5 separate regions of the Homo sapiens genome follow, and regions 1, 2, 3 and 4 are each linked to region 5. Evidence: promoter capture Hi-C in 16 types of primary human blood cells and fetal thymus (Javierre and others, 2016). All regions are on one chromosome and are shown on one strand. The core of a region is centred on a gene start or on the middle of the fragment in contact, and the rest is flanking DNA. Distances in the headings are between cores, read along the strand shown. Region 1 overlaps ANXA2R-OT1 (ANXA2R overlapping transcript 1). Region 2 overlaps ZNF131 (zinc finger protein 131). Region 3 has its middle 14 kb from the start of NIM1K. Region 4 holds the start of LOC124900972 (a long non-coding RNA gene). Region 5 holds the start of TMEM267 (transmembrane protein 267).

Region 1 (2,700 bases), core at 121-2,620, 470 kb after region 5:
CCTCCGTTCAGGGAAAGTTTGCGGCGCCGTGACGGATCGACTGGCACTGGGTGCAACATTGTCTTGTGGCCTAGAGACTAGAATATAAAAACAAAAACCAAATACAAAACTGCTGCTGGCATTACTCCTACTCTCCCCCCTCAAGTCAGTGGCTTCAGGCTTAAGAAAACCTGTATTTTTCTTGGCTGTGCCATAATCCGTAATTACCGAGGCCCCCAGCGACCCACCCAGTGTGATTCGCAGAGGGAAAGGAGCTGGAATAAGGACCGTGAATGGGGCGGATGTGGCTCGTCCTGGGAGAGAGCTAAAGCTTATGCTGGTCGCAAACAGCATTACATTGCAGGAAACTGCTCTTCCAATGGCCGTGGCTGGGTCCTTCCACACCATCCCTCTGCCCTAGACCTTTGTCCCCGTTCAGAGCCATCAGAGATTCTAGGAGAGCTGTCGACAACCGCATCTCTTCGGAACTTGGAAACTCTAGGTTCAAGATCTCCGTGGAGAATGAAAGGCACAGTCGCCTGACCCGGGCATCAGGCTTGCCCCGCACATCAAGTCCCTCCCCTACTGGATGGAACTCTGTGGCAATCGCTCCTTATTCTGATGGTTCACTCTGTCAGATATCCTCGATATTTGGGGATAGTAGTTCAAAAACAGCCGGGGAGGAAAATGGGCTGAAAGATTCCAGCGTTGGATGTAGAATTGACAGCGAGACATACACCTCCTCTCTAAGCCCAGAGAAAAGCTCAAGTTGTGGTTCTCTGTCTCTAGCAGCATGATCTTCAAAATGCATCATTGATTTCTATCTTCTGGGAAATGCAATGCAGGTGAACTTGTAAGTGCTCAAATCCTCCATCTCCTCACTTTTCAGACTGAGGCCTTTTTTTTTTTAAATCTGAGAAGAAATATGGGACTGCCACTGCTCAGTAGGAAAATGTCCTTTCCCACAAGCATTTATATTTTAATAAAAATCTGCACTTTGTGAGTTGAGCCCCCTCAAAGAGACCTACAAACCCTGCCACAAATATCTCCAACCACACTCATCATTTCCGATTTTCATCACTGCTGCTCCTGTGCAAACCAAACTATCCTTTCCCTGGGGCATCCTAGGTAGAGGCCATGCCAGGACAAAGGCAGAGATATGCCTGCCTGGTAAGGAAATCCATTTTGGCCTTGTAATTCTCACCCTCTCCCAAGATGTTTGCCTCAATATCTCCTTCCCACCTTACCCCGTCTTCAGCTAGCCAAAACATTCCCTGGTATTTGAGGCCCTTCCAATTTCCTCCTGGTTTTGTGGGTGGGAGAATAAAGAAAAAACTGCACTGTTCCCACCCACATAGTTACAGCCACTTTATCAAACGGAAGAGCAGTCTGGAGCCATTGCAAAACAAAATACCTGCCACAACTCCTCTCTTCTCATTTCGACTCCAGCTTTTCATCTTAGCAAAAAAGTTGCAATCAGCACCCCCTAGACGGAAGGAATATCCTGTCTTAATGGGAGTCCATAGGAGGCTGCAGGCTGCTCCCCTACAGAGACTAACATCAAGGTAGTTGCAGAATTCAGATTCTAATTACAGTGTGGTTGGAGGCGGGGTGGATTCCAGGGAGGTCAGGAAGAGGTAAAGTACAGAATTGAGCTCCTTGGGAGGAGGTCATAGGAACTTTGCAGTATGAAAATGGCTAGAGATTGGGTAGAATTGAGCAGGCTGGCAATGGCAGTTTTGTGTGGGTGGTAGGACCTAGGATTCAAACTTGAGGGCAAATTGTGGAGCACATACGACAAATGATGTAGAGCCTTTCCTATTTCCCTTCCTGCTGTGTCATCCGAAACAATAAATAATAAAGAATTAACAAAGACTGATATTTTTGTTCAATTTCATGAAGAAAAATCTCATCAAACTAAGATAACTATAATGACAAATCTTGTTAGAATATTATTAACCAAATGAAAGTGACACAAAACAGAAAAACGGTGGGAGGTGGGAGGGCCAAGAAAGAAAAAGTCCCCAACACTCAGGTGGTGTGTACAGGTGAATCTTCTGGTCAGTTGGTATGTTGCAGAAAGCTGGGCAACTAATAAATTAGGAGGCAGGAATTCATATGAATACTTTCCTGATACAGAGAAACTCTTGGTTTTAACAATCTACTTCTTTGTCAGGTATTGGTTCTTGATTTTAGGCTCAGAAAAGATGGTAACAGTTATAACTGTAGTAGAGCAGGTAAAAACAAAGATCATGCAGGAGTCTAGACAGAAAGTAAAAGGCAAAAATGTCCCAGGGTAAGTAATCTAGAGTAAGAAAGTGAAGAATTCTGCTTGGTGCCAACGGAGGGCTCCACCATGCCTCTGGTTCACCTACAAAAAATGAACCATTTGCTGTTGGTCTCTGGGATTGAAGATTCACCCTCCCAATTTCCTGCCTGTCCTAAGCTTACCTGTAACTTAGAGGGTTTTGTGTCTGTTTTTTTGTTTGTTTTGTCTGTTTGTTTTGTAAAACACTCTCTACAAATGTTTGATAGATTATAAACCGCAGGATCCACTAGACCCTGCAAGGTGCAGGGGAGCCCTGTGACTACCACTCCAATGCACCTCCACACATGTTCTTCCTCCTAGTTCCTCCACAGAATTTCTTCTTCCTGGTTCCATTTGCTGTAGTAATTTGGGGCTGTATTCACTGACAAGTTCCAAAAGTTTACCCAATTTTG
Region 2 (2,700 bases), core at 48-2,547, 330 kb after region 5:
ATATAGGGCAGGGAGGGACAATAATCTTTGTCAAGCTGGGTGTGGTGGCTCACACCTATAATACCAGCACTTTGGGAGGCTGAGGCGGGAGGATCGCTTGAGTCCGGGAGTTTAAGAACAGCCTGGAGAACATAGTAAGACCCCATCTCCACAAAAAATTATAAAAGATTAGCTGGGCATGGTGGCACATGTCTACAGTCTCAGCTCCTTTGGGAGGCTGAGGTGGGAGGATCATCTGAGCCTGGAAAGTTACAGCTGCAGTGAGCTGTGATTGCACCACTGCACTCCAGCCTGGGTGACACAGTGAGACCCTGTCTCCAAAAACAAAACAAAACAAACCACCTTTGTCTTTCAGAACTGCCCCTAGAACCTTTCAAATTAAGAAAAATGCTCAGTTGCAGGTCTCTCCAATGGCTATAAGCATTTTTAAACTGACTGCTGTGTTTGCCATTCCCTGCCAAGTGGTTTCCCTTAACTTTACCAACATATCTTCTAAAAACAGCTGGGGATGACTCCTGTGTGTCGCAGGCAAAACACCATGCTCCACTACCATTCTCATAGCTGAGATCAGTCCATGAGGTGGACAGTTACTACTCAAGTCAGCTGGCATTCAGGAGCTTGTGATAAATAGGACAGACTCGGCTGGGAGTGGTGGCTCACACCTGTAATCCCAGCACTTTGGGATGCTGAAGCAGGCGGATCACTTGAGGTCGGGAGTTCGAGACCAGCCTGGCCAACGTGGTGAAACTCCGTCTCCACTAAAAACACAAAAGTTAGCTCAACCTAGTGGCACGTGCCTGTAGTCCCAGCTACCGGGGAATCTGAGGCAGGAGAATCACTTGAACCTGGGAGGTAGAGGCAGTGAGCCAAGATCATGTCACTGCACTCCAGCCTGGGCGACAGAGCGGGACTCCATCTCAATAAATAAATAAATAAATAAATAGGAAAGAAGTCAACTGACTGTCCTGTCCTCAGTCTCTCCAAAAACTAGAACTAGACTGAATCATTCTAATTGAACTGGGAAAGGAGACTACATTGGAGGCTATATCAATCTGTGCCTCTACACTGATGCAGGTTCGTGCCTACTTTGGAGGCACGAACAATTGCAAATAGTACTTTCCTTTCAGGGTTCCTATGTGCCCCTGGGACTGTGCTTCTTGTGTGGAAGCCAGGTACTAATTTCCTTGCCTCACAAAAATACGATGACTGGCAAGGCGCGGTGGCTCGTCCCTGTAATCCCAGCACTTTGGGACTCCGAGGCAGGTGTGTTACTTGAGGTCGGGAGTTGGAGACCCGTCTGGCCAACATGGAGAAACCTCATTTCTGCCAAAAATACAAAAATTAGCAGGGTGAGGTGGCAGGTGCCTGTAATCCCAGCTACTAGGGAGGCTGAGGCAGGAGTATTGCTTGAGCCCAGAAGGCAGAGGTTGCAGCGAACTGAGATTGCGTCACTGCACTCCAGCCTGGGCACAGAGTGAGACTCCGTCTCAAAAAAACAAAACAAAACGAAACAAAATGACGACTTACACCTAAGAGGTGGTTATAAGAGACCATCAAGTGTTTAAGGAAGATCAAGCAGCCCTCGGGTGACTGTGGAGGTCTCATTTAAGGATACTCTTGGTTAGAAATTCTCAAAGGGATGCTTCCTAGAATAATAACTGACTTATTTATGCACATCCCGTGGGCAGTTTTCCCTAATAGGAGTAATCCAATTAAAAAAGTGGTACAACATTGTGCATGACTTAAGCTGATATGTTCACTGATATCACTTGGGCTCTGGAAGGCATTTATGTCAGCTTCAAGCCACTGGGGCCAGGTTTATTATGAATGAAAAACTTGCCCTAGTAGACATCCTCCCTATGGGACAATGTGGAGCCTGTATAATTGTAAAGCATCTTGCTATACTTAGACTAATGCCCAGGGCTAAGTGGAAAAGTCAATACAGAAACCGAAAAAGAAAGTCACCTGTTTTTCTAGGGATTTGTTCAGTTGGCTGAGTCCAGAATGAACCTTAGTGTGGTGGGTGCATGATTAAGGTCAACACGGCAGGGTGCCCAAATCCTGCTGCTTGAAGTTCTGTTGACTTCAATAAATCCTTAAATAAATCCAGTAGGAGAAAAACTGAATGGATTAGGTCCTGGTCCCTGTGTTTTTTGTTTGTTTTTGGGACAGAGTTTCACTCTTGTTGCCCAAGCCAGAGTGCAATGGCGCGATCTCAGTTCACTGCAGCCTCAGCAATTCTCCTGCCTCAGCCTCCTGAGTAGCTGGGATTACAGGCATGTGTCACCGTGCCCAGCTAATTTTTTTGTATTTTTAGTAGAAATGGGGTTCCACCACGTTAGCCAGGCTGGTCTCGAACTCCTGACCTCAGATGATCCGCCCGCCTCGGCCTCCCAAAGTGCTGGGATTACAGGCATGAGCCACCGCACCCAGCCAGGTCCTGGTCCCTACGGTCAGATTAATCAGAGCGGCTAAAGAAGTGCTGTACTTATGGGGAAAATTCAGTACCAGCCAGGATAATACAGAAACAAGGATATGGAACAAGACAACTCTCCATGGATACTCATAATGTTTCTGCATGTCTTATAAACAAAGACATTGAGAGCCTTTTATTTTGGACTATCTTTTCAAAGTTGTCTGTACAGCAAAGGACTTTGGAAAACAGAGCCTGTCCTCTTCCAGAGTGGAGAGTAGGTTTAT
Region 3 (2,700 bases), core at 63-2,562, 310 kb after region 5:
CACTCTAGCCTGGGTGACACAGCGAGACCCTGTCTAAAAAAAAAAAAAAATATTTATAGGGACATGTTGGGTTGCAGGAAGGGCAAAGAGAAGATTGAATTGCAGGAAGGGCGAAGAGAAAAAGATTGAATTCACATGCTGCCTTCTTTACCATGTCAATAGAATTAATGAAGTTACATTTGCAGGGCAGGGAGTAGAGTTTTAAGAAGTTCAGACTATTATGACAGCCTCTGGTTTTTTTTTGTTTGTTTTTTATGGGTTTTAAAGTAATAAATATCTAGGCTTCTAACTATGAAGGATTTTATTAACTGATGGGGTGATGAGGGTTTAATTCCTTCTTCTCATTTGAATTCTTCATGACAAATCCTGTAAGAGGTATAGCACAGCTCAGCAGATTACACAAGAAAAACAATCTAGATCTCCCTCTCCTGATGTAATTAACACAAAGGTCAGTGTTAACCTAATGAATTCAAAGCTATTAGTTTTCTCCAACAAAATCAGACTAAACTTTCTAGGTCAGGCATTTGTTTGTAATTTTGCATCTAAGAGTTATAAAATACTTTTTGTGTGACTAGTTTAATGATCATAGAATCACTTGTTTAAAACAACCAACCCATGTTAAATTGAAAATGCGAATTAAAATCCACTTGATTGGTAAAGGTATCTACATTTAGGCCTCACTCTATGGCTTAATAAGCCTGTTGGCTTATTCAAACTATGAAATGGGTAGTTAGTCCAGAGAACTTTCATGGACCCTTCCAATAATGACATCTTTAATTCCAAGTTCAAACTAGTGGGAGCAGAAGCATTCAAATTCTCATGAAAATGTCCCTACATTCAGTATTATCTGAGTATGGTAGCCTTTTTATTTTTATTTATTTATTTATTTATTTATTTATTTTGAGACAGAGTCTTGCTCTGTGGCCTAGGCTGGAGTGCAGTGGCACGATCTCAGCTCACTGCAACCTCCATCTCTCGGGTTCAAGCGATTCTCCTGCCTCAGCCTCCTGAGTAGCTGGGATTACAGGCATCCGCCACCATGCCTGGTTCATCTTGTATTTTTAGTAGAGATGGGGGTTTCACCATGTTGGCCCAGGCTGGTCTCGAACTCCTGAACTGGTGATCTGTCCACCTTGGCCTCCCAAAGTGTTGGGATTACAGGCGTGAGCCACCGTGTCCAGCCAGGTAGCCTTTTTAAACTGGTAAGACTACAAGAGCCTTCTGATTTTGTACATATCCAAAAGATGTCTAGCTTTTAAATGTATTGCTAATGTATTCAGTTTAGTTTTTCTTTCAATCTCAAATGATAGGTGTGGTGTAATTAAAAAAAAAAAAAAAATAGGCCAAGCACGGTGGCTCATACCTGTAATCCCAGCACTTTGGGAGGCTGAGGTGGGTGGATCACCTGAAGTCGAGAGATCGAGACCAGCCTGACCAACATGGTGAAAACCCGTCTCTACTGAAAAAAAAAAAATTAGCCGGGCATGGTGGCGCATGCCTGTAATCCCAGCTACTCGAGAGGCTGAGGTATGAGAATCGCCTTAACCTGGGAGGTGGAGGTTGCAGTGAGCAGAGATCGTGCCATTGCACTCCAGCCTGGGCAACAAGAGTGAAACTGTCTAAAAACAAAACAAATAAAATGGATTTGGGTTTTTCTCCCTGGTTCCTTGCACACAGCTCCAAAAATCCTTGTAATTTCCAGAATGTCTTTTGTTATTCATTACAAGCCCCTTTTGATCTTACCAGTTTATGCTAATGAGATGACTACTGGCAGAGGGCCCCTAGATAGCTTCAAGATGGGCACGGGTCACTAGAGGAACCAGTTGTATTAAAGGGCTACAACTATTACCCCCACCCGAGACCTCCAGGGAGAAGAGGGGCTGGAGATTGAGCCCGGAGGCCAATAATTTAATGAGTCTAGGTTATAAAATGTCAGTAAGGGAGCTTCTGAGTTGAACACATCAACATGCTGGGAAAGTGGCATGCCAAGTGAGGGCAGAGAAACCTCTACTATTCTCCTCCACAACCCCCTCCATCCACCTTACTCTATGCATCTCTTCCATTTGGCTGTTCCTGAATTGTATACTTACTGTAGTCGTTAAGTATAGTGCTTTCCTGAGTTGTTTCAATGCATTATTGAACTTGGGGGGATGGGAAGGCCATAAGAACCCTAAATTTACGGTTGGCTGGGCAGAAGCGCGGGTAGCCTGTTGATCGCATTTGTGGCTGGTGTCTGAAGTGGGGGCAATTTTGTGGTACTGAGCACTTAACTTGCTCTAAATCTGGGTGGTGTCAGATTCAATTGTTGGACACCCAATTGATGTCTGAGAATTGCTGTTGAAACGGAGTAGAGATAGAAAAGCCTCTCATCGTTCTCAGTGCACTTGGGACTTATTTCTATGTGATCATCATTGCACACTCTACTGTCCAACTTGGTACCTCATACTGTAGACTTATCTTAAAACTCCAGTACAAATACAGTAGAACACTGGAGGACTAAATATCCAGTTTGCTTCAGTACTTGAAGCAAATATACATCAGTTGTTAACAGCTGTTTTATGTTCTACATAAAGTGCTTTCCAACTACAAAATGTTATTCAACATACAGTTTATCACCAGTAGATAGTTTTCCTCTACTTTTGCAATCAAATTTACTGGCATTCTGGGTACACTGATAGCTTCTATACCTTTTGGGAAAAG
Region 4 (2,700 bases), core at 6-2,505, 390 kb after region 5:
GTAAGAATGATATTTGACCAAAAAAATCTGCATTTGTATCTGTCAACTTAAAAGAATCACACAATTATTAATTTAGAAAGGAGATTTTCTTTTCTTTTCTTTTCTTTTTTTTTTTTTTTTTTTTTTTTTGAGACAGGGTCTCACTCTATCACCCAGGCTGGAATGCAATGGCACAATCATGGCTCACTGTAGCCTCAGCTTCCCCAGACTCAGGAGATCCTCCCACCTCAGCCTCCTTAGTAGCTGGGACTACAGGCATGTGCCATCATGCCTGGCTAATTTTGGTGCTTTTTGTAGAGATGGGGTTTCTCCATGTTACCCAGGCTGGTCTCAAACCCCTGGGCTCAGGTGACCCCTCTGCCTCAGTCTCCCAAAATGCTGGGATTACAGGTGTTAGTCACTGTCCCCGGACAACTTTCTTTTTTTTTTTTTGTAGAGACGCAGTTTTGCCGTGTTGGCCAGGCTGGTTTTGAACTCCAGGCTGGTTTTGGCCCCAAGTGATCTGCCCACCTTGGCCTCCCAAAGTGCTGGTATTACACATGTAAGCCACCATGCACAGACTTAATTTTATTTCTTATAATGTGTTATGGCCTGTAGGGTGGTTATTCTGACAGGCTGGAAAGTGTAGTCCCCAGCCAAAGACAGAAGCAGGCACTTTGAGGAAGTGGAGGGTGGAACAGGGATTTATGTTGAATGGGTTGACCAAGTATACGTATTCAACAGGTTACAGGAGGCATATAAATATTCATGAATGTGTTCCTAATGCATGTGTACTGAATAAATATGCCTGTTACATACAGCCCATATTCATTCTGGGGTGGAGACAACATTCAAATGTATTACAGTTAGGCCATATATGTCAAAAGGTGAAACAGGGACACGAAGGCACTCAAGTGCACAGCCTCTGTGAACAGTGCATGCTGGTGGTCTTCTTATTAGGAGAAAGTTACTGAAATCAGTCTCTTGTCCAATCAAAGCTGCATTTATAGCTTGTGGAACAAGGGCCTCAGTTAGTCACTGTCTGGCGATGGATGAACTGTAATGGTTTTAATAGTGATTATCTTGAGGCCAGCGCTTGATTAGCTGCTAGAAAAAAAAAAAAAAACCTTGTGGTAGTTAGAACATAATTTGTTTTTTAAGTGTAGAGATGTGTGATTCAACCCTTGCCTGGCACAGCCTTAGGTCTCATTTATAGTTTGGTGTCTTAATGCTATAAGGAGTCTGTTCTGTCAGTCTCATGATCCCTATTGTAATAATAATGCTAGTCAGTCATGTTTAAACTGCAAAAGGGAGTAGGTATAACAAGCTATGTCTGACCTCCTGTCTTGTCATAGCTAGGAACTCAGGTTTCTCTGGGGTCCCCTTGGCCAATAGAGGGTCCATTCAATTGGTTGGAGGCCTTAGGATTTTATTTTTAGTTCTCATACCCCTTGATGTTTTTGCAAACAGAATGTTTGACTCAGATGAAAACGTATTACAATACAATTTCATTATGGCTATGATATGAGAAGGAAACATAATCTACTTTCAGACAGAATACTCCAAGAAAGGTACCGTTTTACATTTGTTCTCATTACTTTATCTTTGAATCCATGATAAAATCAATAATAATGATATTAGTATTAATAGCAATTGACCAAATTATTTTCTGCTATGCTATGTTGAATATTCACTTTTATATGGAATGCCTTCATGAAAGCTACCTTGTAAAATGAGAGCAAATTTCACTTCCATTTCAGAGATGATAAAATAACCGAGTCAGCCAGCCAGAGAACTTGGCTTCTTGCTATTACACATATACACACACATTCTGAAATCCTTCTAACTTAGCAATTCATCAGTAAAAGCCAAAACTGGGCTTGTGAAAGTCCAAGTTAGGAATGTACAACTATCTCTGCCCCACCTCTAATCCAAAACCCAAACCATTCCTTAGGCATCTCCCCAAGAATTCCTCTGCTAAGAGACCTGGGTTTCAGAACTACCTACGTGATTTGGGGCAATAATCATGCCCCAAATCATGCAGCATACTACAAGCCAGTGTCCCCCAAAAGAGCTTCCTTCTAGGAAGCTAATACTCTTCTTTTCAACTTCTAACCCAGTCTGTCACCAAAAGGATTTCATTCTAGAAAATTTCATCAAAGGTGATTGGCTTTTATGTTTATAACACCAGGCCATTCTTCTGTTGCGATCAGCTCTGGGCTTCCTGTCACCACCCAGCTTGCCCCTATCTGCTTGGGACTGCCTAATCAGCCAGAAGACCACAAAAAAGGGCACTCATCCTTTGTCACCTGAAACAGGACAGATGTGAAGCACTTTCAACAACTTGTGCTTGAGGCCTGGGATTCTGTAGAGCATGTTCCAGTGTACAAGAGGATTCAAGTCCCTGGCAGCCTGCTTTCTATCCAAAGCTGGGTCACCTCTCTTGGGACCACCAGGACATTGAATTGCTTTCCCATTCCTGTGGACTTCTGAAATGGGCCCACCTGAGACAAGAACCCAGAGTGCCTAGCACCTTTAGGCTGGGCACAGAACCACCCACCTAGGAACCGATGACTGCAACCCAGGAGGAGACACAGATGCCCCCAGAGATGCCCCCAAGTCACAGCCTCCCTTGAGCCCTGCCAATGCACTCCCTAACTGCCTCACTTGGCTGGATCACCCTGCTCCAGGAACAGACAACTGGAGCCTGAGAAATCAGAT
Region 5 (2,700 bases), core at 63-2,562:
TTGGGTTTGCATGAAGCCATCTATGTTGTTCCTCAATAGCTCCATAAAGCCTAGATTATAAGACTTTGTACCACACTGCCAAAAGGGTAATGCCAAATTATTACTGCATTCAGAAGGAGAAAATTTGTCCTTAACATGGCTAAAAGCACTCAAAATTATAAATACATTTGCTGAAAGATACTTTAAATTCTCATTTAAGGTGTGTGGGAGTTAAAAGGTGTTTAATTTTCCCTGTCAGTTGGGTGTTTTACATTGGCTAAGAACCAAGACTGTGACAAGAAATGAGTTCTATGATTGAGAAACTCTAAGATTCTGGGGGTGGCCTAGGAGTTTACTTTGAGATTGAAATTTATTTTCTATGGTCAACTGTATAATTACGATGATACCACCCCTTGCTTTCCATCTGACACTTGGTTTGAGAAACTGTAGGTAGGAAAGGGAAAGAAGAATGTCCCTCCTTGGGCCTCTTCTTTTGGGCCTGTGCTTCCTAGAGTCAAATGTCAAGCTGGTATTTCCTTGGTGCTAAGAGCAACCACCACTCTGAGGCAGAGACGGGATGGGACCTAGCCAAAGTCCCAGTAAACAAACTGTATCTTGTAAGCGCAATTTAATTAGGGTCAAACTATTCTGTATGGACTTGCTTTTTCGACTTCTGAGGATTTAGTAGTCATGATTAAGTGCTGTCACGCTACTGCGATCTACAAACAGTAGCTCCACAACATCCGCCCGCATCGTGGCAAAGAATTATCAAGAAATCCCCAAGGGGGCGGTGAGGAGCCGCCGGTCGGCCAGGTCGCCCGGTCCCTCAGTCTGGTGAAAAGCTCCGTTGCCCACCCTGAGGGCTTCGCGGAAGGAAGTTGGCCGTATCGCTGCACCTTAGAGATGCGACGGCCGAGGCTCCCAGCTCAAGCTTCTGGTAGTAAGGCCTGTGTGCCTGGCATTCGGGGAGGCCACTTTTCTATCCCCAGCTTCCGGGCCACCACTTGGGTGCGTCGTGGGGATGTCGGCAGCTACGTTTGCGGCACAGCTCCGGCTAAACTGAAAAACGAATCCTCAGGTTTGACAAAACTAAACTAAAAAGACACTTTTCTCCTCTCACTCTGACGTCCCAAAAGTTTCCTTTTTAGGGGTCGGGGCCTACGGTGGGCGAGGAGAAACTCGAGGTATCTACCCACCGCACCAAACAACTCATGCGTCGCTTCCTTTCGACTTGGAGCTGGCCAGTATCCCGGCGTCCTCTCGGCCGACGCTGCGGTCTGAGGCCACTCTGGCCGGCAGCCGACGTCTCTATGGCTCCGACCGAGGGGCGGAGCCGCTGCTCGAGCTGCTGCTGGATTGAACTCAGAGAAGCCGGGGTGGGTATGGCTGAGCCGCTGCGTGGGACTGAGGGGAGGGGGCCGGGTGGACGCCGCGGAACTGCGTCCTGAGGTGGGAGACCGGAGGTGGGGGACCACTGAGTCTGATGTCTGGAGGGTCCGGTTGCGGGTCGGAGGGCGTGCTGGAACAGCCGCCACGCGGGAGCCAGGAGCCTCCTGGGTGCGTGTGACCCACGAGCCGGCACCGTCCCGCGGCCCTGGGGTCTGCGAGGAGCCCTGGCGCCGCCCTCCGGCTTCGCGCTTTTTCTAGATCCCTAGAACCCCAGCCCTCCGCCTACGCTCCGCGCCCCTGGCCTTTTTCTGGCCCAGGGTGGGGTTCCGGGAGTCGTGCCGAAGGAGCCCATTGCCGTCCTTAACCGGTTGTAAGAGCCTTTCGTGCCCCGGAGCCTTTGAGGCTTGAATGCTGAGAGTGTGACATGGTCCTTTCCCTGCAGCCTGGCCCATTTTTTTAAATGACATTTGAAAAATTATTGCATCACACCAGACTCAGAAAAGGATGTCTGGGAACTTCTGAGGCTTGAAACATGTTGAAATACAGAATTTTGTTTTATTCGTAATGGGCATAGGAACTAAACATTTTAAGTGCAGACATCTGATGGCTATAAAAAGTTTCAGTGAAAGTAAGCAAGATTTGTGTTTCCTTTGTCAGTTAGTTGCATCAGATTTGGCATCTGCTTTTGATATTTTTCCATTAAAGAAATTAAATATATTAAGTTTACAGCAACTACAGTTCAGTGAAGAAGACTTACTGGTAAAGCATAATAAAGGCGGTTTCTGGAATTTGGACCGTGTTTTGACCTTGGGTTTTTGCATATAATGTGTAAGGTTGGTGGGGAAGAGGGAAAGTTAAAACAGATGACACTTACTTAGAGAATGTATCAGCTCTTATTTGTTTTGACAGAAATAATGTCTAAGAGATTATTAGCAAACAATACATGATAGCGTATAATTAAAGTGACCAGCTAATTATATGTTTGTGGAATTCAGGAAGGAGAAAAGTACTGTTATGTATACTCTGAAGGCCCCAAAGTTAGTGGTATTTGCTATAAGGGGGATGGGGTGTGACAAAGTTTGGCCATTGCAGAAAATGGCTTCTGCGAGTCATAGGGAGGAATTTATAATATGTCAGTTATGTCAGAGAAGCTATCCCAAACAGTATCTTTAGTTCATAGGCTGCGGATTTATTATGTGATTATCTCTTGTATTAGTAAAATGGAATATTTATTAAATACCTTGAGCACACTGGATTTTTAAACATGACAAGTTTAAAAGAGATCACTACTCTTAAGGAACCTTATCAACAAAAGTGAATATGTAAAAGGAG

Evidence for each region. Contacts are between HindIII fragments. The CHiCAGO score rates a contact against its expected background, and 5 or more counts as called.
Region 1: a contact is called between a fragment that was not itself captured here and the fragment with the promoter of TMEM267 in region 5, in 4 of 17 cell types (naive CD4 T cells, total CD8 T cells, naive CD8 T cells and 1 more). The highest score is 5.8, in naive CD4 T cells.
Region 2: a contact is called between a fragment that was not itself captured here and the fragment with the promoter of TMEM267 in region 5, in 1 of 17 cell types (total CD8 T cells). The highest score is 6.0, in total CD8 T cells.
Region 3: a fragment that was not itself captured here is called in contact with the fragment with the promoter of TMEM267 in region 5 in 1 of 17 cell types (activated CD4 T cells); the score reaches 5.1 in activated CD4 T cells.
Region 4: a fragment that was not itself captured here is called in contact with the fragment with the promoter of TMEM267 in region 5 in 4 of 17 cell types (total CD4 T cells, activated CD4 T cells, non-activated CD4 T cells and 1 more); the score reaches 6.4 in total CD4 T cells.

What each region holds. Positions count from the first base shown.
Region 1 is chr5:43,015,206-43,017,905 of GRCh38, reverse strand. The region is part of intron 2 of ANXA2R-OT1 (ANXA2R overlapping transcript 1); the gene reads left to right. Among named protein-coding and RNA genes, the nearest start is that of FLJ32255, 23 kb to the right of the region's middle. RefSeq lists enhancers at 193-432, 2,219-2,268. The HindIII fragment of the contact is 2,115 bases long and covers 313-2,427 here.
Region 2 is chr5:43,150,243-43,152,942 of GRCh38, reverse strand. The region is part of intron 4 of ZNF131 (zinc finger protein 131); the gene reads right to left. Among named protein-coding and RNA genes, the nearest start is that of ZNF131, 31 kb to the right of the region's middle. The HindIII fragment of the contact is 9,324 bases long and covers 1-2,700 here.
Region 3 is chr5:43,177,162-43,179,861 of GRCh38, reverse strand. No RefSeq gene overlaps it. Among named protein-coding and RNA genes, the nearest start is that of NIM1K, 14 kb to the left of the region's middle. The HindIII fragment of the contact is 3,514 bases long and covers 1-2,700 here.
Region 4 is chr5:43,096,258-43,098,957 of GRCh38, reverse strand. LOC124900972 (a long non-coding RNA gene) reads left to right here and starts at 1,465. Exons shown (of 2, transcript XR_007058762.1): 1 at 1,465-1,550; 2 at 2,171-2,700. The HindIII fragment of the contact is 4,508 bases long and covers 1-2,700 here.
Region 5 is chr5:43,482,477-43,485,176 of GRCh38, reverse strand. It overlaps TMEM267 (transmembrane protein 267), which reads left to right and starts at 1,312. Exons shown (of 3, transcript NM_022483.5): 1 at 1,312-1,355. It overlaps C5orf34-AS1 (C5orf34 antisense RNA 1), which reads right to left and starts at 1,258. Exons shown (of 3, transcript XR_007058763.1): 1 at 1,176-1,258. RefSeq lists enhancers at 983-1,172, 438-1,281 and a silencer at 1,227-1,457. The HindIII fragment of the contact is 3,795 bases long and covers 913-2,700 here.